2 separate regions of the Homo sapiens genome follow, and region 1 is linked to region 2. Evidence: promoter capture Hi-C in 16 types of primary human blood cells and fetal thymus (Javierre and others, 2016). All regions are on one chromosome and are shown on one strand. Each heading gives the region's core, a stretch centred on a gene start or on the middle of the fragment in contact. The rest is flanking DNA. Distances are from core to core; before and after follow the strand shown. Region 1 overlaps HCFC1 (host cell factor C1). Region 2 holds the start of LAGE3 (L antigen family member 3).

What was found. Contacts are between HindIII fragments. The CHiCAGO score rates a contact against its expected background, and 5 or more counts as called.
Region 1: a fragment that was not itself captured here is called in contact with the fragment with the promoter of LAGE3 in region 2 in 1 of 17 cell types (non-activated CD4 T cells); the score reaches 6.7 in non-activated CD4 T cells.

The regions. Positions count from the first base shown.
Region 1 is chrX:153,963,682-153,968,173 of GRCh38, forward strand. It overlaps HCFC1 (host cell factor C1), which reads right to left. Exons shown (of 26, transcript NM_005334.3): 2 at 897-1,045; 3 at 443-603. Among named protein-coding and RNA genes, the nearest start is that of HCFC1-AS1, 2.8 kb to the right of the region's middle. RefSeq lists enhancers at 1,999-2,657, 2,658-3,317. The HindIII fragment of the contact is 550 bases long and covers 1,124-1,673 here.
Region 2 is chrX:154,475,871-154,481,036 of GRCh38, forward strand. LAGE3 (L antigen family member 3) reads right to left here and starts at 3,411. Exons shown (of 3, transcript NM_006014.5): 1 at 2,858-3,411; 2 at 2,413-2,541; 3 at 1,905-2,188. The coding sequence starts at 3,045. The coding sequence ends at 2,074. PLXNA3 (plexin A3) reads left to right here. Exons shown (of 33, transcript NM_017514.5): 33 at 1-1,909. RefSeq lists a silencer at 2,805-3,024 and an enhancer at 3,286-3,785. The HindIII fragment of the contact is 14,076 bases long and covers 1-5,166 here.

The DNA of each region.
Region 1 (4,492 bases), core at 149-2,648, 510 kb before region 2:
CCCCGCCATGCACACAAAGCTGGGTATTATATGAGGGCTCCGCAGAGCAAGAGGGGGCGCTGGCTTGGGACTACCTCCAGACAGAGAGTCCTTGGCCACGGGCCTTGGAAAATACCCATCAGGAAACTTGTAGGCAGCGGAGGCTGAGAAGGAACGCGAGCAGCTCTAAGCCGACTCCGAGAGCTGGGCCAGCCCAAGGCAAAGTGGCTTCCACCTCCAGCTTGGCCCTCCTCCCACGAGGCCTGCTCAGGGTCAGTAGCGATTTTGGAGCCCGAAAGCTCCTGAGAGGGCATCCGGTGCCGCTCTCTCATTTACAACCCAGCACGAGAAAGGGACCCGGCCACGGGGCTCTGCTGCGCACATTCTTTAGGACACCATGGAGCCCTGTGCATGTGAGAGCACACCCACCCGGGGGGTTCCAGAGAAAAGGACCAAGCCTCACCTTGGAATGTTGTTCTTTGGGTCCTCGCTATCATTGGCCAGACCCCCAAACAGGTAGCATTTGTTGCCCACAAGGGAGAAGCTGTGCCCGAGTCGAGGACACGGAGGGGGCCCGTTTTTGGGCGTCTTTGCTTTGAGTCTCTTCCACTCCCACCGGCTCGCCTGCAAAATCAAGACCTGGAGACTGAACCGTGGGATGAGAAGGCCACCACTAGGGACCCGGGGCAACTTGTGGTGGAGGAGGAAATGGCCGGGGGTGAGCGAGGTGCCTTGCTGGAGCAAGAAGGTCCTGGGTGTTGGTCCTTGCTGCCTTCTTCTGAGGTGGGCCAAGTTCAGAGCAGCCTTGGCAGACTCTCAAGCGTCCCTTCCACCTCCCGCTTGCCTCAACCCTGAAGCCACTACCGTCAGGTCACATGGGGCCAAGGAGGCAGAGTGAGAACCTGGGGCTGCTTTACCTGGAGTTCGTAGAGGTCATTGCTGTATTTCCCATACTCCACCATCCCACCAAACACCAGGAGGCGAGTCCCGTCACACACGAAGCCATAGGCTGCACACCCAGGGGGAATGTCCCCCCTCACGGCTGGGATGAACCACTGGTTGGTTGCTGGGGAACAGAAGGAGGCAGAAGTCAGAACACCCGGGAGCCCCCATTCCTCTCATTCCCCAAATGTGCCAGCCGTCAAGCTTGGTGAGAGGGGCTGAGCCAGCACCATCCCTGCGGGCGCTCTAGCAACTCCAGCTGCGCTACCTGGGCCATCTTCCAAACCCCTCGACTTCAGGCCAGTGCAAAAGAGCCTGTGACCACCCTGCTTCTCGCCAAGGTCATCTTAATGAGCGGGAAGTTACTGTGCAAGATCCCTCATCAGCTACTGGGAATCTAGCCACTGCCTTCCTTCCCTAGCACTCAGTGATCAGACATGAATTTCTCCCCAAAATACCCTCTTGGTGGGCCTGTGCTCCTCCTCCCTGGAGCCCACATTTTTGTCCCTTCATCACAGGGTCAGGACAGCCAGAGCCCAGAGCAGCACTTTCAAGTGGCCAAAACAGTGACCGCTGCAGGCTACGAAGAGCCATGGGGATGAGACCCGGCCTCTGCTCTGACCTCCCGGACTTCCTCTGGTCTCCTAGGTGATGGTCCACCAGCATCCCTCCCTGCCCCTGCTGCCACACCTATGGTACTCCAGAACATTCTTGCAAGCCAGAGGCAGCAGTCTCAGCAGAGCTGTGACAGAAGCTTCTCAAAAGCTCATGAGGGTGAGGCGACCACCAAGAAAGAGGGAAATCAGACCTTAGGCACTGCTTTGCTTCCACAGGATGGCACAGCAGCCTTCAGCTGGGACCAGGCCCCTCCCTCATGTCCTCAAACTTGACTCCCCTCACACCTGGCAGGCCAGGGCTTCCCCGAAAACCTCCTCCTATGAGGGGTCCCTCAGAGGATTCACCACACTCTTTCCAGAAACCCCAAACTGGGGGCCAGGTGCAACCCCGACTCTGTGCCTCTGAGCTGGCCTGGGTGAGATCTCAGCAAGCAGACGGCAGAAGGAACTGAGGCCCCTCCACATGACTCAAGACGCAAGATGGGTCCCCCAGGACGTGACAGGGCATGGGGGGATTCCTGTGGGGTGGGAAGGCTTCCACACAGGGATGCTGTGATATTGTGATATAATACAGACTATTCAGTTTGGTGGCCAAAAGTGTTGTGAGACCATAGAAGAGGAAAAACAGTGTTTTTTTTCCATATTCAGGTGTGCACCCAGGGCCAGGCGGCTGACCATGGTTGGGAATGCATGCCCCACTGCACTCTGGTCCCACCCAGTCTCACACTGTCACCCCCAGGGCTCAATGCGGAACCGTGTGCAAGGCTAGCCCTTATCCAAAGCACAACTCCCAGCCTGGGTAGCACAGGGAGACCCCGTCTCTACAAATAATTTTAAAACACTGGCTCAGTGTGGTGGCATACACTTGTGGTCCTAGCTACTCAGGAGGCTGAGGCGGGAGGACTGCCTGACCCTCAGAGTTTGAGGCTGCAGTGAGCTGAGACCGCACCACTGCATCCCGGCCTGGGCAACAGAGCAAGACCTAACCTCAAAACAAACAAACAAACAAAAAAAACAGAAAACCCCACACAGCACAACTGTACCACCACCGCTCCTCCTGAGGCGAGAGCACCCCCACCCCGCTCTCCAGCACCCACTCTGCGGGTAGGCTTCGAGCAGGCTGACAGCCTCTGCAGCCATTCAGCTGAGTCACTGGGCCTCGGACATGCCGAGCACTAGAGCTCCCCTGCCATTTCCCTAAAGCAGAGGGACAACACCTGTGCCGCCCGCATGTGCAAGCTCGGATCCTGGCCCTCTGCCTCTTTCTCATTCCCAGTGCAAAAACCACCCCAGAAAAGCAAGAGCTGCCAAGGCCAACAGCCTTGCGCACTGGAGAGCCGTCCTGACCAATCCCTGGAGGGAGCTCCATGCAAGCTACCAGGGTAAACGCATAACGAGACCTAAGGCTGCCTGGGCCAACTGCTCTCGGTAGGTAAAGGGGCAGAGCCCAGGAGGGCAAGCGACACCTGAGGTCACAGCGTAAAACAGAGACAGAGACAACAGCCCCATCACTGACTTGAAGCAACCGATCTGTGCCTTCCCTAGGGTCCCATGTCCAGGCAGCCACCCTCACTCCCCTGAGCACCCTCGTGGTCAAAGCCCACAGCTATGGGGCTGCGGGTCAGAGTTTGGGACAAAGCTAAATGGCACGTGGGGTCAGTGGGCAGCTTTCCTATCACACGCTGATCAGTGAGCCGGTGGGCCAGGCCAGAAGCGCCCTGTGATATCTTTGGGGATCCCGCTCACCAGATCCTTCTACAGGACCCAAGAGGTGCTGATCTCATTCTAGAACACTCCAGGCAGGGCAGGGGCCCTCCCCACCCCCGTCAAGAGAGGTCTGTCAGGGAGCACAGCTCCTGGTGTGACGACAAACCTGCGGCTCCTCATCTCACCCACGAGTCCTGGTTCCGCCCCCTGAAAGCACACGAGCAAGCTCTCCTCCCTTCTCCCAGCTTTTCAATGTGACAGCTGCTCTCAGTCACCCCTGAATCATCTGGGGGGTGTCATGTAACCCAATCCTTGGGCCCCTCATCCTGGAAATGCTGGCTCTCAGCTGGGAGGGGAAGGTGGGGAAAGGACCCTGCACTAGATGAAGACCACTCCAGCTCCCCTCTCCTGAGCAAGGCTGTGCCCCGGCCTCTCTGTGTTTCATCAGCTCCCCCAACCACTTCATGCTCTGCAAGCTCCATCCCTGGTTGCCACTGTCCCATCACCACCTAGAGACTGGTGCCCATGCAGTGAGGTGGCCGGTCAAGTTCAACGAGCTGCCTTCCTCTCTGTTCTACCTGTCACATTAGAGCATTTCCTGTGTGGCATACGACGTGCTGGGAGGCACAGAGGACACCGATCTTGTGCTCATACTCCCAATGGGGTAGGAAGGCTGCATGCCCCCCTCCCACGATGAGACAAACACCCTAGAAGAGCTCTGACCAAGCCGGGCCCTTGGGAGCACAGAGCAGTGCGACTGCTGGAGAGGGGAGGACAGGAGTGGAAAGGGCTTCTCAGAAGAGGTGACGTTTCAGCCGGGCCTTGAAGGGTGAACAGGATTTCCCGACAAATGAAACTAGCAGGGCCAATCAGGAAGTGACTGCAAGAGTCTAGTAAGAGGAGAGGAGGGCTTGGTGTGGAAGGGGACACATTTGATGCCTGCCCAACGCAATGAACAATTAGATACAGGGACAGAGGAGAGAATGGAGGCATTTCAAAGGTGATGGGCCCCAAAGACAGGTGGCAGAACGGCCTCTATGAAGGTTTGCACTCCCGCCCAACTCCGCCACCAGCTGGGAGGGCGACCCTGGACCTGTCACTTCCCCTCTTGGACCCCAATTTCCTCATCTGCAGAAACAAGGAAGTAGTTCCACTAGGTATTTTCCAAGGCTCCCTCCAGCTCCAAGAACCTATGGACATTACAGAGCCACCGTAGCCAAAGCTCTCGCTCCCCCACCCCCCACACC
Region 2 (5,166 bases), core at 2,161-4,660:
AACAGAGCTAAATTGGGGCCAGGTGTGGTGGCTCGCACTTGTCATCCCAGCACTTTTGGAGGCCCAGGCGGGAAGATCACTGGAGCCCAGGAGTTCAGGACCAGCCTGGGCAACAAAGCGAGATCCCCTCTCTACAAAAAATAAAAAACTAGCCAGGCATGGTGGTGCATGCCTGTGGTCCCAGTTACTCAGGAGGCTGAGGTGCTGGGGAACAAGGCTGCAGTGAGCTGTGATTGTGCCAGCCTAGGTGACAGAGCCAGACCCTGTATCAAAAAAAATAATAATAATTAAAAAACAAAAGATCGGCTGGGCGCGGTGGCTCATGCCTGTAATCCCAGCACTTTGGGAGGCTGAGGTGGGTGGACCACCTGAGGTCGGGAGTTCGAGACCAGCCTCACCAACATGGAGAAACCCTGTGTCTACTAAAAATACAAAATTAGCTGGGCGTGGTGGTGCATGCCTGTAATTCTAGCTACTTGGGAGGCTGAGGCAGGAGAATTCACTTGAACCCGGGAAGTGGAGGTTGCGGTGAGCCAAGATCGCACCATTGCACTCCAGCCTGGGCAACAAGAGTGAAACACTGTCTCAAAAAAAAAAAAAAAAAGTGAAAGATCTAAATTGTCAACTATTCGTCAATAATTAATGTCTAAAAAATATTAAGAAAGGAAGAAAGGAATGAGAGCAAAAGAGAGGGAGAGAGGAAAGTGTCATCTTCATAAGCTGAAGGCCAGTGCCACCGTCACCACTGGCAGAGCTCCCCAGATTCTACAAAGGGAAACTGTTCCTCCATATGGAGTAATAGGGACTGGATATGTCATGCCAAATGAAAGAACACGCCAAACCAGACAAAATATATGGAATGCAGAGTATTAAAAAACTGGCTGTGGGCCAGTGAGGGACAGCGACGTGTGGGAGCTGGGAAACAAGGTAAGCCATGCGACTGGCCCAGTGTCCTGTGTGGAGTTTCCTGGTGGAGCCTGGCAGACACCCGGACTTTAGGAGTTGAAACTGATTCAGAGCGTCCCAGCAGCTGGAGTTTGCAGGGCGGAGAACCAGAGAGAAGAGAGCTGCACAGGGAAAGAACCCTGGATATCCACAGAGGCTCCCGTTCCAGTGTGCAGCGGACTACGACTACTGGTGAGCACAGGCGTGTGAGGAAGCTACCCAAGACCAGGGAAGGCCATCACCCCAGCAGGAGAGGATGAACGGTAACTCCAGTGTGCAAGCAGGACAGGGACTAGCAGCTGTCCCCACCCACCAGGATAGAGAAGCTCATGTTCACCTAGGCAGCACTGGCCAGGGTGCCCAGAATGGTGTTTGTTGCCTCCATAGAGGGAAACAAGCCTACAGTTAAGAGCTGCTCTGGTCCCACACAGCACATCTTCAAAGCAAGACTCAAAAGGATCAAACCATTTCCTTGTTTTCTGAGAATAAAAGCAGTTGTACCTCTTCCTTTTCACTCTCAGAAAATCTGATAGAATCTATAAAAGAGCCCTAAGGCTGGAGACACTGTATTTTCCAGGGAGCCAACTCCTTGCCCCAGACACTAGTCAATTGCCCCAGCACTTTCTTCACTGATCGTTAGAGGAAAAAAGCTCATGTTAGATTTAAAAATCAGGAAAAAAATTTAACACTAAACTTGCAAATATTATGTGGTGTATATTACAGTTACACATTTACTATGTAAGTGCAACTGTAAAACTGAGGAAGTATTCCAAAATGTTGACAGTAGTTAATCCTGAATGACAGAACCCAATTGATTTTCATTTTCTTCCATTTCCTAAATTGTCTTCAATTTCCTTGTACTCCTTGAATATCTGAATTCTAGAACCCCCCCCCCAGCAACCCAAGCACAACAAGAATATTGGGAGGTGCCCCAGCTGCAAATAAACTCAGACTTGGAATAGTAGCGCAGTTTTATTTTCTGTAGTAACAAACATTTAAGAACCAGATAAAACATGAGGCCCTCCCAGGAAAGTAGCAACTGTGGGAATTCCTGCCCTAGGGAAGGATGGACGCACTGCCTACAAGGAGACGCAAAGTGGGACCTCGCTCCATTTGCCCAGGCCAGGCTTAGCGGGAAACGGGGGGCCCAAAGCGCTGCATGGTCCGCACCACCAGGGAAAGCTGGTCAAGAAAGTTGATGACGGAAATTCGGAGCAGGCGACAGTCTTCAGCTTTCCAGCGGCTAAAAGTGAGGGGAAAAGAAAATCAAATTGGAGGTGGCAACTCCTGGTCCCTCGCTCTGCCCCTCAGGCACCCAATATAGCAAACCCTTGGGAGCCCTGCCATTACACAGCCCCTCAGGCAGAGACCGGCCCAGCGCACCTGGCGCTCCTTAGGGCTCATCCTTGGATGTCCCCCATGTCTCCATGGGCCGCCTCCCCCAACCCCGTCCCTTTCAGAACTTACACGACCAGGATCCTGCCACTCACTGTGAGATCCTTCCCAACCACCCTTTGGTGGGGCTCGGCATCTGGTGCCAGGGACCCATGGGCGATTTCCGCCTCCAAGGGGGTCGGGAAAGGCACGCTGAGGGTGCTGGGGGTCATTCGGTTAAGGTGCCATCTGATACGATCTTGCCTATGTCTCAGGCCTTCTTGCTCCTCTGAAGCCCCCTCTCAGGTCACCCTGCCTAGTGTCACCCCCTTCACTCCTTACCTCGCCCAGGCCACCGTTAGCAGAGCTTCTCCCTCCATTTCAATGTCTTCCCCTCCTCCGACCACCTCTGACCGTATACGCCAGCCCCGGTCCCCCCCTGCTACCCTTTCCGTCGGCCCCCCGCCCGCCCTCCTTTCCTTCTCCCCGAGTCCAGCCCTCGCTCCGCCGCAAGCAGCCCCCAGCTCGGAAAGGATACAATATGTGCGGCCGCATTCGTGACCCCCTGGCCGCAGACGCGGCGTCTCTGCCCGGACCTGGCGCGTGCGCTGGGGGAGCTCCACCGGCCGGAGCTGCGGCTGTGTCCACGCCCCCGCGGCAGCTGTGGCCACCCCGGCCATCCCCGCCGTCAGCGCCTCCGCCTGCGTCTGCATCCGCGTCCCGCATGACCGCCGCCGCGCCGCTCCGACTCCACCCCCGAAGCGCAGGTCCTACGCCCCGCCCTCTCTGTGGCTCCTTCCCGAAGCCCCGCCCCCTGCGCACGACTCCGCCCACACGCGCCTGCGCAGGTCCCTGGAGAGCCTGACTGGCGCGTGGTCAGTTCCCGCCAAGCGGCCCTGCCGGGGGCCTTCTGAGACCCGGTCAGCGGTTGAGAGGCTGCGGTTTCCTCCAGAAACTCTGCCCTTTCGCGCGTAACTCGATTCCAGAGCGCTGGTGCAAACTGACCCACAGTCGGTCCGGCCCCAGGAAGCCAACCCTGACGGGGCTTTTGAAGACACCGTGGTCGCCTATCCCAGAGGCGCACCCCGCGAGGCTCCGCCCCTAAGCGCGCCTTGTGACCTTAGCGCGCCTGCGCTGGCGGGGCCTTCCCCCTTGTCCCTGGAGGCCCCAGTGAGGCCCTGCGGTGCCTGGACGGCTTCCCGCCCCGTTTCTTACCTGGACCCAAGAGCCCCAGGAGATGTGGCACAACGTCCATGTTGCGATTCGCAGAGGGAGGGTGGCCGGGTCGGGTAACCCCCAAGGATACTGCTCTTGCCCTCAACCCCAGTGCCCAACCAACGGGGCTTCACCATGGACTGTGAAGCATCGGATGTGCATTTTAGAGGAAGCATTTTAGAGCGGGTGGGCTGTGCAGAGCGGGGGAGCCTGTCAGCAGGAGGCCTGCACGGAGGCGAAAAATGACAGGGCCTTGAATGAAAGTACTGGCGGTGGGTCTAGGTCTAATATAACGTGAAAAATCAGACTGCACAACTATGAGTATGAAAATGCCAGTTTAGGCCAGGCAAAGTGGCCCCCGCTTGGAATCCCAGCACTTTGGAAGGCCAAGGGAGGAGGATCACTTGAGCCCAGGAGTTCAAGACAAACACAGGCAACATAGTGAGACCCCGTCTCTACAAAAAATACAAAAATAAATTTTAAAAGTTAGCTGGGAGTGGTGGAGCGTGCCTGTAGTCATAGCTTCTTGGAGGCTGAGGAGGGTTGATTGCTTGAGCCCGGGAGTTCGACACCAGCCTGGGCAACATAGTGAAACCCTGCCTCTACAAAAAATACAAAAATTAGCTGGGTGTGATGGTGCACACCTGTGGTCCCAGCTACTAGGGAGGCTGAGATGGGAGGACAGCCTGAGCCCGGGAGGCAGAGGCTGCAGTTAGCCGTGATCGCCCCACCGCACTCCAGCCTGGTTGATAGAGCCAGACCCCGCCTCAAAAAATAAAAGAAAATGCCAACTTAGTCTCTTACTGTACATATGTAGAGAAATCCTAGAACAATACAGCGTCAGGTAAATCCTCATGATCTCTGCTAATAGTATGGTGGGTGACTTTAATTTCCTTTTTGTGTTTTCCCTCCAATTTTTCCGAAGTGGTCTTTTATGACATTTACAATAAAAAAAAAAGTATTTAAAGTGACATCAGTCCGGGCACGGTGGCTCACGCCTATAATCCCAGTACTTTGGGAGGCCGAGGCGGGTGGATCACTTGAAGTCAGGAGTTCAACACCATCCTGGCCAACATGGTGAAACCCCCGGCCCTACTAAAAATAACAAAAATTAGCTGCGTGTCGTGGTGTGCGCCTGTAGTCCCAGCTATTCGGGAGGCTGGGACAGAAGAATCACTTGAACCCGGGAGGTGGAGGTTGTGGTGAGCCGACATCACGCCACTGCACTCCAGCCTGGGCGACAGAGGGAGACTGTCTCAAAAAGAAAAATAATAAAAATAAAAAATGAATAAATAAAGTGACATAAAATTTCCAACAGTGTTTGTCATGTTTGGACAACCTATTTTCCTCCTTTGCAGTCATAAGGAAGGATTAAACACTGAACTATATCAGCAAATCCTGTTGGGTTTCCCTCTGAAATAGGTTCCACATCAGCCCACTTCTCGCTCTCCACTGCTAGTCTGCTGTGGAAGCCAGCATCTTTCCTTGACCTCCCTCAACAGCTTCCTGGCTGATTCTCTTTTACACTTTCCCCTCTACAACCTATTCACCACACCGCAGAATGACTTTTTAATTTCTAATTTAAATTGCATGGGGCTGGGCGCAGTGGCTCATGCCTGTAATCCCAGCACT